Linked DNA regions of Homo sapiens: all the other regions are linked to region 2. The links are contacts of gene promoters, found by promoter capture Hi-C in blood cells and fetal thymus (Javierre and others, 2016). All regions are on one chromosome and are shown on one strand. Each heading gives the region's core, a stretch centred on a gene start or on the middle of the fragment in contact. The rest is flanking DNA. Distances are from core to core; before and after follow the strand shown. Region 1 overlaps MIA3 (MIA SH3 domain ER export factor 3). Region 2 holds the start of CNIH4 (cornichon family member 4). Region 3 overlaps MIA3 (MIA SH3 domain ER export factor 3). Region 4 holds the start of LBR (lamin B receptor).

Region 1 (2,777 bases), core at 1-2,500, 1.7 Mb before region 2:
TTTTCCCAGTGGCAGGTTGATGGTGGGGTTTGTTTGGAAAGGCTCCCTGGCGCTGCTCCTTTGCCCTTCTGCTTTATTGGGATTTGGGCTTGTACCGCCTTTTGAACAGGAATTGGGAGTTTAGGTTTGGGACGAGTCTGGAGTCCAAGCACTCATTGTATTCCGAGGTCTCTGCCCCGACTTTGATCAATCCTGTCGTTTCTGTGCTTGGAAGCCGCCTTGCAGACTGCTAGGCAGGACTGCAGGAAGACCAAAATCTTTCGCTCTGCAGAGACCGAGGATCTGCACCGGCCACCTGGGACCGGCAGCCTCCTCTTCTGTGCGCAGGAAGCGGAATTGCTCTCCAGTCTGGGATTGGAGGTGGGCGGTGGAGAGGGCACAGATCTTCAGGCTCAGATGAAGAAGGTTATTACAGGAATGACAGTAAATACTCCAAGGGTCTCATAAGCCAAGCTTGGTTTAGCCTTAGCCGCTTGCGTGTTGAAACCTCTTCCCTCTATGTTCGCCGGACCAGGATCATTTTAGGGCCTCCCAGACCGTCTCAACCTTGTAACTTACTGATAGCCACTGCAGAAACGGTTTTTCATACACTGTTAAGCAATGCCTATAGAAACGTATTCATTTTAAGAAGGCCAAGAACTCTATGGTTTAGCTATTTATATTCAAATTGATGTTATCAAAACCGAATTTCATAATATGAACTGTTTGTATCTCTACAACACTAATCAAGAAAAGAGATCTCTAATGAGTGTGAAGCCATTCCTAGAGATAACCCTGTGGTTGATGTAAATAAACACTACAAAAGCGGTACAACTGCCATGATTTTTCCCTTTAGTTTTCTTGGGTCAAAGCCACGCTGTTACCCATTTGCCGTTGGCAATGGCAAGATAGTTGGTATTCTTTGCTTGCAAGCATTGCCCTGCCTGGGTTCCTCAAAACAGGTTACCTGGAGAATCATCACATCACTGATGCTTCTTCAGTACTGAGGCATGATGTTAGAAGAGCTCACGGTTGTAACATAACTTGAGAAATGGTACGTGTTCAGAGGAAACCAAATACAATAGGCATCAACAGGAGCAAGGTCTAGATGGGTCTGTGTTGTGTTGTAGAAAGTGTTTAGTAATGTGAGTATGTACGGTGCCCTTGTGTGGTTTTCAAATAGCTGTTCCACAGGGTGCATTTTGTTGGCATCTCAAATATTATTATAAATCCTCTATGATCTATTGTAAGGGGGAGCAAAAGAAACATTGCCATTTTCAATTCTGATCTTATTCCCAACCTTAAATTGTCCATCATCTTAAACCTGGCCTCACACTCAATTATATCTGAGCTACAAAGCTGACATGTTGGAAAGTAATCAGAGTTTAGCTTCAAAAAACAAGTAGCCCCTTCCAAATCTATATGCGTGTATAGCCATTTAAAGGCACGTTTTTAATGTATTTTATTGCAAATTGGCTTTTGGAAAAAATCTTATTTCTATTCGTCCTTCTTTGTCTCTGCTATTTAGATGTATTTATTGTCCATTTCATCTTACATGGGAAACTGTGTATGTGGTCAACAAAAATAAAAGTACTGCTTCAGCCAGTTTCTAGATCAAGCGTGATTGAATTACTGACCTATTCTCATAGTTTTGCTTAGTCCCAGCCAAATGAGATGTCGACTTTTGATTTTGTTTATAGAAAAATATACATAAGGGTATTCTTTCCTTTGTTTTGAAACTTAATTTTGGATACAGTCAACATTATTTACTTTCAGAAAATATTGCCTTGTGATGTAATTGAATCTATAGTAGGGTGTGATAGATATCTTTTCCCATTAATTTATCCAGACACTGTACTAAGGGAACAACTTGGCTGCAAATGAAATTGACAGTGTTTACTGCTACATAGTACTGGTTACAGTCACTTGAAGATAGACCCTTTTAGTGGTTAGTTCAAGTTAATTGACCTCTTGGGGGTTCCTGGGTACTCTAGTTCCCTATTACCCGTTCATGTAGCCATGCTTAAGTTAATCATCATCTGGGCTTGAATTTACCCATTTGCAAAAGGAAGCTTTTTATGAATATGAAACAGAAAAGATTGAGGACTAGAAGGTTAGAGAGGGAATCGAGAGTTTCACTTGGGTGAGAAAAGCCATGTGTGGTAGTTGGCACATTGCTTTTTGTTTCTCAGTATTATCCATAGAGAAAAATAGAGAAGGTTTTCCTTTCCCTTGTCTGCTTGCAGAAGGTATGATTTATAGCAGTAAAGCTCAAAGGATTTGAGATACTTTGAGCATATGAAAGAAATTCCAGAGAGTACTGGAAAAACTTGGTTGTTGTTTATAGTGGGATTCTTATATTTCCTGATAAATCAATATGCACTGTGAACACTGAATCCTGATATCTGGCTATTTTTTTTCTCTCTCTTTATATACAGTGTTAATGTACCGCGGTGAGGCTCTTGAAGATTTCACAGGCCCGGATTGTCGTTTTGTGAATTTTAAAAAAGGTGATCCTGTATATGTTTACTATAAACTGGCAAGAGGATGGCCTGAAGTTTGGGCTGGAAGTGTAAGTAAAATATCGACATACTTTATTTGCTTAATTTTTATTGGCTTCTTTAGCACTGTAGAGTTAAATGACTGCATTTTCTTGGGACCTTTGATGGAGTTAACTTGTCCTCTCTGCCTGACTGTGAAAAAAGATGGCCCTGTGTCCCCAGCAGGCCTTGGGTCTGCACAGAGTAGGGGCTCAGCAGAGCCTTCTGAAATAGAACTGATTCTGGCAAGTTCCCCTC
Region 2 (2,968 bases), core at 48-2,547:
TATCACATAGGCATTTTATCATCATACATCATCTCAAAAAGAAGGGTCAGTACAATAAGATATTTTGAGACAGAAAGACCACATTTACATAACTTTTATTACAGTATAATTGTTCTATCTTATTATTACTTGTTAATCTCCTACTGTGCCTGATCTATAAATTAAGCTTTATCATAGGTATGTATATATAGGAAAAAACATAGTACACATAAGGTTTGGTACTATCCATCGTGTCAGGCATCCACTTGGGGGTCTTGGAAAGTAGCCCCTGCAAATACAACTGTATTTGTTAAATGAATGAATGGATGAGTAAGACATCGTATTCACTTCTTAAAGATCTTAAAATCTAGAGAGGAGAGAAACATTGCTGTAGGAGAGGATAAACAAAGGACTGTGAAATCTCTGGAGAAATTGAAATCAGGAAGGGAAGGGCAAATCGCAAAAGTCAAGCCAGGAGCATTAAGTTAGATTTGTGCTTTGAGATGAAAACCCCTTACAAATCCTAAGTCAGGGAATGCAATGGTTCTAGAGCCAACTCTAAAGAAAATTTCACACATGGGAAATACATCCTACTGGATATCCGGATTAAAAGCGTTCAGTAGAGACTGGTGCAGTGGCTCAGGCCTGTAATTCCAGCACTGTGGGAGACTGAGGCAGGCAGATCGCTTGAGCCGAGGAATTCGAGACCAGCCTGGGCAACATGGCAAAAACCCCATCTCTATTAAAAATACAAAAAATTAGCCAGGCGTGGTGGTACATTCCTGTAATCCCAGGTACTCAGGAGGCGGAGGTGGGAGGATCACCTGAGGCCAGGAGGTAGAGGCTGCAGTGAGCTGTGACCATGCCACTGCACTCCAGCCTGGGCGACAGAGTGAGACCCTGTCTCAAAAAATAAAATAAAATGAGAAATAATAAAATAAAATTAGCTGGGCATGTCGGGAGGCTGAGGTGGAAGGATTGCTTGAGCCCAGGAATTCGAGGTCATAGTGAGCTCTATCACGCCACTGCACTCCAGCCTGGACGACAGAGCAAGACCCCAGCTCTTTAAAAGAAAAGCGTTGAGTAAATACTTGTTGATTAATTCCATTTCTGGAAATAATCGGATTTATGAAAGAGGCCCTGCCCACCTCTTTGATATGGACTTGTACTAATGAACTACAATTCCCAGCATGCGTCAGAATTAGGGCCGTAGAGTTTTTTAAAATATGGACTACAACTCCCGGCATGCCACACCAGGATTCGAGGACCACACGCCTCAGCCAGCCCCGGCAAGGGCCTATCAGGGGTGGGTCGGGGCATCCGAGCGGGTTTGACGGAAGGAGCGGCGGCGACGGAGGAGGAGGATGGAGGCGGTGGTGTTCGTCTTCTCTCTCCTCGATTGTTGCGCGCTCATCTTCCTCTCGGTCTACTTCGTATCCTTGCCTGAGGCAGGCGAACGCCTTGCCGGGGGACACGGCTGAGGGTGGGCCAGTTGGGCACCCGGGCAGGTGTGTGGGACTAGGGAGGCGCCCGGCGGCGGGCGTGGGCTCCCTGGGAGCTGGCCTGGCCGGGGCGGTGGCGCGGGCCCCGGAGCGGGTAGGAGAGGCTGGCTGCCCTACCCGACGGGCCCTGCTGCCCTGCACGCACTTGCCCTGCCTGGGTTGCCGGCCGCCCCTCACTCGGGTCCGAGTGGGCCTCTCCGGGCGCGCCCCGTCTCGGCCTGCCCGCCTGCTCTCCGCTCGTCCCCGCGGCGCCCGGACCAGCCCTGCCTGAGCCACGGCCGCCCTCGGGAGAGAAGCGTCGCTGTTTTTCTGGGAGAGGCCCTGCGCCGTGCTCTTCGTCGGATATTGGGGGTCCCAAGGGCGGTCGCTTGCGACAGTCGGGTGCCGGGATAAGTGCGGGCCATTTGCCTCCTCCTGTTCCCCACGCAACACCCCCGGCACCCGCCCCTTTGTTCTGGCGGGTGTTAGTACTTGCAGGGACCTTTCACATCCAGGAGTTGACTCATTCGCCAAAGGAGCGAAGTTGCTTCCTTCACTGTGCCGTTTTGTAGTGAGTGTTGGAAAGGAGTTGTTTTAACAACTGTCTACAAAGTGATTATTTTGGTTGTCCCCGGTGGTTGCAGATCTGTAAATTCAATAACTACATCTGCTGTAGTTCCCAATCGTTTCTCAGCTTTTAAATTTTTCTATCGATCCATGTTAAAACTTAAGTTGCAGTATTCAAACTGTTTTCCAGAGCAATAAATGGTGGTTGAATTTAGCACTGCAGTAGCCATGTCGGCTACAACTCTTCCCATCTCTTGACAAAGCATCTAGGCTTAGTTGTTGCCCAATGTTGTATTGCACCATCCAGGTTTAAGTAATTAAATATAAGAAAAAACGTATGAGGAACTCCGCATTTCAGCTTCCTTTCTTGGAAATCACATGTACCTGTTTCTGATCGGATTAAACCATTTGTTTGCTAGAGCATGCGGGCTTTAGGATAGTCGTACAGAGTATATGTTCAGTGCAGCTTCATTTTTCATTGTGGACTGGCATCCTGTTGTAGTGGAAAGGGACAAAATTTGGAATCAGATTTCCTGGTCAGCTAGCTCTTTGCTTGCACATTATTTCCCTAAGCCTCAGTTTTCTGATCTTTAAAATAGGAAATGTTTATTTCCTAGATATGCACAATGAGAATGGTGCTGAGCACCCTAGCACAGTGCCTGCCCCATAGCTAATGTTCAGTAAATATTGCTCTGCCTTCGTGTCCCCACCCTCCCCAATTGAGCAGCAGTTTTTACTTTGATGATATCTAACGACAAGATTTCTGAGTTTTAGTAGGTTTGGGGAGCTGATTGAAAGGGCAGCATCACTTGCCTAAGTTTTGATGACCTCTATGCCCCTCTTGTGATATAAGGAACTAGAGCAAGCTTGTCCAACCCACGGCCCACGGGCTGCATGTGGTCCAGGACAGCTTTGAATGTGGCCCAACACAAATTTGTAAA
Region 3 (2,816 bases), core at 137-2,636, 1.7 Mb before region 2:
ACTTAGTCAGCATTTGTTCTTTGTTTATGTAAGTCGATTTAAGATTTTAAATCTTAGAGGAATAAAACGTTATTTGTGATATTCATTATCATCATATTGGTTTTATTTGCAGCCATAAAAAGTTAGTTACTTGTATATAAAAGGTTTTTTGTCTTATGTGGTTTTTTAAGCAATAAAAACCAATTTATTCAAGACAAAAGTATGATGCAGAGAGATTCCAGCCATGTTTTAGATAACATATTGTATCAGGGCCTATTGAAACTAGAAATATATGCCCAACCTAAAGACATTTAGAGTCATAGTACTTCAAAACACCACAGGCCAAACAATAAGTATGAGACTCCCAGTATCCTGTTTTTCTTAAAGCAGTGAGAGCTACTGAAGATTTTTGAGGGGATAGGTATCTGATAGAGTTGGTTTAGAATTTCTGTGAATGAGTCTTTGTGACTGCTTTATGGTAAGCTTCTTTAAGGTTTCTCATTATTTCTAACATTATTTCTAACATTCAGCTAGTTGCTACATTGCCTGATGATGTTCAGCCTGGGCCTGATTTTTATGGACTGCCATGGAAACCTGTATTTATCACTGCCTTCTTGGGAATTGCTTCGTTTGCCATTTTCTTATGGAGAACTGTCCTTGTTGTGAGTAAATTAATGCATACTTTAACTCATAAATTCAAGTATGGTTTTATAATCACAGTCCTTTTGTTTCTTTTTCAGTTTCTAATATGAACAGAAATTAATGCTTTTAATTCAAGCTAACCTTGTAAAATAATTTAGTATAATTTTTGTGTTGGTAAATTCTTAAGTGAATAAGACAACATGTATAATCTCAGTGGGAAAACTTCAGTTTATATGTCTCATATCAAAGTCTAAATTTTAAGAATTAGGTGGGTCTGTATTTCAACTCACAAAGGATGAAAAGAAAGAATTAGATAGGTCATATGTACACTGTTAGTAGAACTAGGAATTCTTAGAGCCATCCTGAAAAATAGTTTCATGATGTGTATGATAAGCCTTAAAAATGGTTATATCCTTTTATATTGTATTAATGTCATGTCTAGTAATCGATCCTAAAGAAATAACCAGTCAGCCGGCACAGTGGCTCACACCTGTAATCCCAGCACTTTGAGAGTCCGAGGCAGGCGGATCACTTGAGGCCAGGAGTTCGAGACCAGCTTAGCCAACATGATGAAACCCCATCTCTTCTAAAAATACGAAAATTAGCCAGGTGTTGTGGCACATGCCTGTAATCCCAGCTACTCGGGATGCTGAGGCAGAGAATCGCTTGAACCTGGGAGGCGGAGGCTGCAGTGAGCTGAGATGTGCCACTGCACTCCAGCCTGGGTGACAGAGTGAGACTCCATCTCAAAAAAAAAAAAAAAGAAAGAAAGAAATAACCAATCATGCATTAAATATCTTACATGGCCGGGCGTGGTGGCTCACACCTGTAATACCAGCACTTTGGGAGGCGGAGGCGGGTGGATCACATAAGGCCAGGAGTTTGAGACCAGCCTGACCAACAAGACAAAACCCCATCTCTACTAAAAATACAAAACTTAGCCGGGGGTGGTGGCAGGAGCCTGTAATCCCAGCTACTTGGGAGGCTGAGGCAGGAGAATCGCTTGAACTGGGGAAGCAGATCATGCCACTGCACTCCAGCCTAGGCGACAAAGTGAGACTCTGTCTCAAAAAAAAGTTTTAAATATCTTACATGAGAGCATTCAGTAGAACAGTATTTATTAGAGTGAAAACTTTGACACAACCTACTGTGATTCACAGTGGGAAAATTGTTAAATTATTGTATGTTCATATAATGGGATATTAGGCTGCTTTATATAATTCAAAGACATAGGAGCACAACAAATACTCACAATTTAACATGAAGTAGAAAAAAAGTAGAAACCAAGACTTTAAGGTATAGATAAACTGTATATTACATAAACATACACACAGAAAATAAATGCTGCAAGGAAATACAATAAAATGATAAAAATTCTTATATCTAGGAGATGAGGTAAGTTTTCAGTTTTTAAAAAATGTGTATTTTCCAGATTTTCTGATTTCATCATGTACTATTTTACTCAGAAAATATCTTTTTATTTCGAAATGCAAATTATATCATGTGTAAAGACACACCGTTAATTTTTTTATCTTCTGTGCAGAATTTGCCTTTCAGACTTAAACATGTTTGTATAAGTGTGTATACTCATACTTGTACATCCTTATGATTATACTATATAGCATTCAGCTGCATAGTTATTTAACATAATTGGGAGAAGATTATTTGTGTAAATGAGCTTTGCAGATGAAAAGCTTTGTATTGAAACTTCACAGTTAAAATGGCCAAAATTATTGGATGCAAATCTTTCTAAAACTGAGTACTCTTTTTCTGATTTCATAATTATATCACATATATCATCATTAATAAATTTTCTCTCACAATTGATTGTAAAATTACTTAAAAAGAAGGGTCTTTTTTCCTGTGAGGCCTTCTCTAACCTCCTGGTGCTTTTCTTCAGATAAAAAGGGAGAATCAAAGGGTAAATGGAAGGGGAAAAGTTGAAAACATTTTACATTTCCCACTCTTGTTTCTCCTATTTGTTAATAAAAAAATTCTAACGCCTTTTTCGTTTTTCAGAAAGTTATATAGGCTCTGTGTCCTAACTGCTGTTCCTCAGCCTCAGCACTTGACTTTTGGAACCTTGGTCTCTGCTTGCCTGTTAGTTTGGGTGAAATGGAGCAGAGGAATTAGCAAGGCCATGACATTAGAGAGATAGTAATTTCTTTCCATGTTGGAATTTTCTGAATGCATAT
Region 4 (2,715 bases), core at 156-2,655, 1.1 Mb after region 2:
TAAAAGAAGAATTAAGATTTGCTTGAAAAACAAACAAAATGAACCGGCATTCTTCTTAGAAGACCATTATCTTATACACAAATGTTCCAAAAGATGAAGCCAACAACATGATGTGCACCCCCACTTTACACAAGATCCACACACAATTGTCAAACGTGAGGATACAGTGCAATCACATCCTAATATATTCCCCCACAGGAGTGAAATAGCCAGGATGGCACACAAAAGCCCCACATTTGTTCGTGTCACTCACTATGCACTCACCTACAGGAGTCAAGATACACACAGGATTTTCTTACAAGAGATGTTTTAGGCAAGTGTGTTTGTAAAGAAAAATTTTGTTCACTGCACCCAATGTCCTCATTCGCCATAAACAGGAAAAACACGGAGACCCTCAGGTTTTTCTCTATTAAGCCAGATGCCCGCTAACTTCAGAGTCAACTGGCACTGCAATCCTCACACATTCCAGCTCCGGTATGTTACTGTTTGTGAACACAACAATTCTCTGCTCATTAACATTACAGGGGTCTCCAGCCATCTTTCCTTCACTTCTCCAAATTCATCTAAACGTGGCATAGAGCAAGACGCTCGAATGACGTTGGACAGCTTCCTTTTCACACCTGAGCCCCGGTAGCCCCACTAGGCAAAATGCAAACAGGAACCCCGGGCCTTGCTCCGCGCCCTTTGCTTCATGAAGCAACAGAAAGGCCACCTTCCTGGCTGTAAAGGCAGAAGCGCCTTCTTCCCCATAAACATCCTTGGGCAGCTCATCATTCCCCTCCTGCTCGTTCTTCTCCCTCTTCCCAGGCAGCCTGAGAAACAAAACTTAAACTGGACTTGTTGCCTAATCTAAATTAGGATCCCTCTGCTCTTCTCCGTAGCTCCATCTTCTCCCACACACCAGTTACTACAATGCGTAACTACAGATCTACACGTGTTTACGTGCAAGGTCCCCGGGGGCCTGTTCACCCTGGCACTGCCCAGGCGCCGCGCCTCGCGCTGCAGGTGTCCACGCGCGGACCACGGTATCTACCGCGCCCTCGTGTGAACACCCGACCGGGCCCCGTAATCACTCTGGGAAAGCGCCTTCAACAAAGCCCTCCGAAAGCAAGTGCTTTACTAAGTGCCCCTTGAGGCTACTGGCAGTGCGAGGCTGGCTGTCATTAGAACATTTTTCTGAACCCTCAAAAAGGTGAAAAAGCAGGACCGTGCTTTAGCAGGAACACGCACACCCGCCTAAATACCCGATTTTTGAGACTGTCCGGGCGAAGGAATTCAACGCATAGGAGCGAGCAGCCATGCAGTGTGCCTGGAGAATCACCAAACCGCGACGACCACGACCCTCAAAGCCAGTGACAAGCAGCGCGAATCTAAGCCCACCTCGGCCGCAGACCCTTCCCCGTCCCGCCAGGCCGCCGCGCCCTGTCAGCCTCCTACTGCAGGACCGCGGGGCCGCCTGCTCATCTGTCAGACGGGCGCTCGGAGGGGCCGGGAGCCAGGCTGCGGTGGGGCAGGACAAAGGCGCCCACGAACCCTCCCTGCCGCCGCCGCTCCACAGCCGCGCCGCGCCGCCAACATGGAGGGAAACGTCCGCAGTTTAAAACCCCCAGCTCCATTTCCGCAGCGGGCCCGGCTCGGGCGAGCTCCAGCCTCGCCCGCCGCCGCCCCGACCACCCGACTGGGCCAGAAAAGGCGAGGAGGGGAGGAGACGAGGAGGCGAGGAGAGGAGGGGAAGGCCGCCGCGCCAGGCCCCGCGCCCAGGGTCCCCGGCCCGGCCGCTGCGCCGGCCTCGGGCTTCCTCCCCCAGCGGCCCCTCGAAGAACGCGCCGCGGGGAGCTGGGAGCAGGGCGGGGGTGGAAGCACTCACCTGCGCCAGGTTCCGGCGGTGACACGGACGGCTCCCGGAGAATAGTCGCACAGCAACCCGGCGGCAGATCCACGCGCGCGACGCTACCCGGCCGCGCTCTCGCGCCCCGCAGTCCCGCAAGCCGGGCGCGCGCCTCCCCGGCCCCGCCTCGCGGCGCTTCTCCCCTCCCCTCGCCTCCCCTCCCCACCGGCGAGGCCGCCCGGGGCTCCCATTGGCTCCTCGACCTTTTGAATCATCCCCGGCGCTGTCGATTGGTCGCGCGCCGTGGCGCGTCCGCCCCGCCCCACCCTGCCTGGGGGCGGGGAGGCCGGTGAGCGGGGGAAACCGAGTCTGGCGGGGCGGCCCGGAGCGCGACGTTTGCCACCGCCTTATCTCAGCCGCCCAGGCGCCCTCGCAGCACACGGAGCCCGCGCGCTCCCGCCCTTTCCCTCCCAGCGCTCGCAGCAGTGTTTGGGGTGCCAGGTGGCTTGGCGAACGAGATTTTTTTTTAAGCTACAAAGAAAACTAATACATTCTTGAAGTGATCACCAAAGATCCGAGCTCGAAAGCGTTTCTCGGTAAAACACTATGAGTGCCCTCCTTAGCGTGTTAAAATCCCACAGAAGCCCCTGGACCAAGCAGCGGCATCGAAGGCGAGCAGGGGCGCTTTTGTGTCCGCGGCCGCTGAACCTGCGTAGAAGCGAACCCGGACCGATGCTGGGACCGGCGGCGGGAGGGAGGGGGAAGAATGGCCGAGGGCTCCTACGACTTACGCTGCGAGGAGGGGCTCGGTTGTTACCCGAGATGCTGTCGAGATGCAGTAGAAAATCCCCAACACCGCGGAGCGTGGAACAAGAAGTTTTATGCGT

What was found. Contacts are between HindIII fragments. The CHiCAGO score rates a contact against its expected background, and 5 or more counts as called.
Region 1: a fragment that was not itself captured here is called in contact with the fragment with the promoter of CNIH4 in region 2 in 4 of 17 cell types (total CD8 T cells, activated CD4 T cells, naive CD8 T cells and 1 more); the score reaches 7.2 in total CD8 T cells.
Region 3: a contact is called between a fragment that was not itself captured here and the fragment with the promoter of CNIH4 in region 2, in 5 of 17 cell types (non-activated CD4 T cells, total CD4 T cells, monocytes and 2 more). The highest score is 7.0, in non-activated CD4 T cells.
Region 4: a contact is called between a fragment that was not itself captured here and the fragment with the promoter of CNIH4 in region 2, in 2 of 17 cell types (erythroblasts and monocytes). The highest score is 8.2, in erythroblasts.

Annotation. Positions count from the first base shown.
Region 1 is chr1:222,618,742-222,621,518 of GRCh38, forward strand. It overlaps MIA3 (MIA SH3 domain ER export factor 3), which reads left to right. Exons shown (of 28, transcript NM_198551.4): 2 at 2,418-2,551. Among named protein-coding and RNA genes, the nearest start is that of MIA3, 2.0 kb to the left of the region's middle. RefSeq lists enhancers at 1-56, 337-396. The HindIII fragment of the contact is 1,598 bases long and covers 452-2,049 here.
Region 2 is chr1:224,355,582-224,358,549 of GRCh38, forward strand. It overlaps CNIH4 (cornichon family member 4), which reads left to right and starts at 1,298. Exons shown (of 5, transcript NM_014184.4): 1 at 1,298-1,412. The coding sequence starts at 1,344. RefSeq lists enhancers at 951-1,090, 1,648-2,148 and a silencer at 1,371-1,740. The HindIII fragment of the contact is 2,727 bases long and covers 165-2,891 here.
Region 3 is chr1:222,645,045-222,647,860 of GRCh38, forward strand. MIA3 (MIA SH3 domain ER export factor 3) reads left to right here. Exons shown (of 28, transcript NM_198551.4): 7 at 510-641. Among named protein-coding and RNA genes, the nearest start is that of MIA3, 28 kb to the left of the region's middle. RefSeq lists an enhancer at 1-12. The HindIII fragment of the contact is 1,853 bases long and covers 461-2,313 here.
Region 4 is chr1:225,426,087-225,428,801 of GRCh38, forward strand. It overlaps LBR (lamin B receptor), which reads right to left and starts at 1,952. Exons shown (of 14, transcript NM_002296.4): 1 at 1,868-1,952. RefSeq lists enhancers at 362-1,034, 1,035-1,706 and a silencer at 1,539-2,368. The HindIII fragment of the contact is 2,832 bases long and covers 1-2,715 here.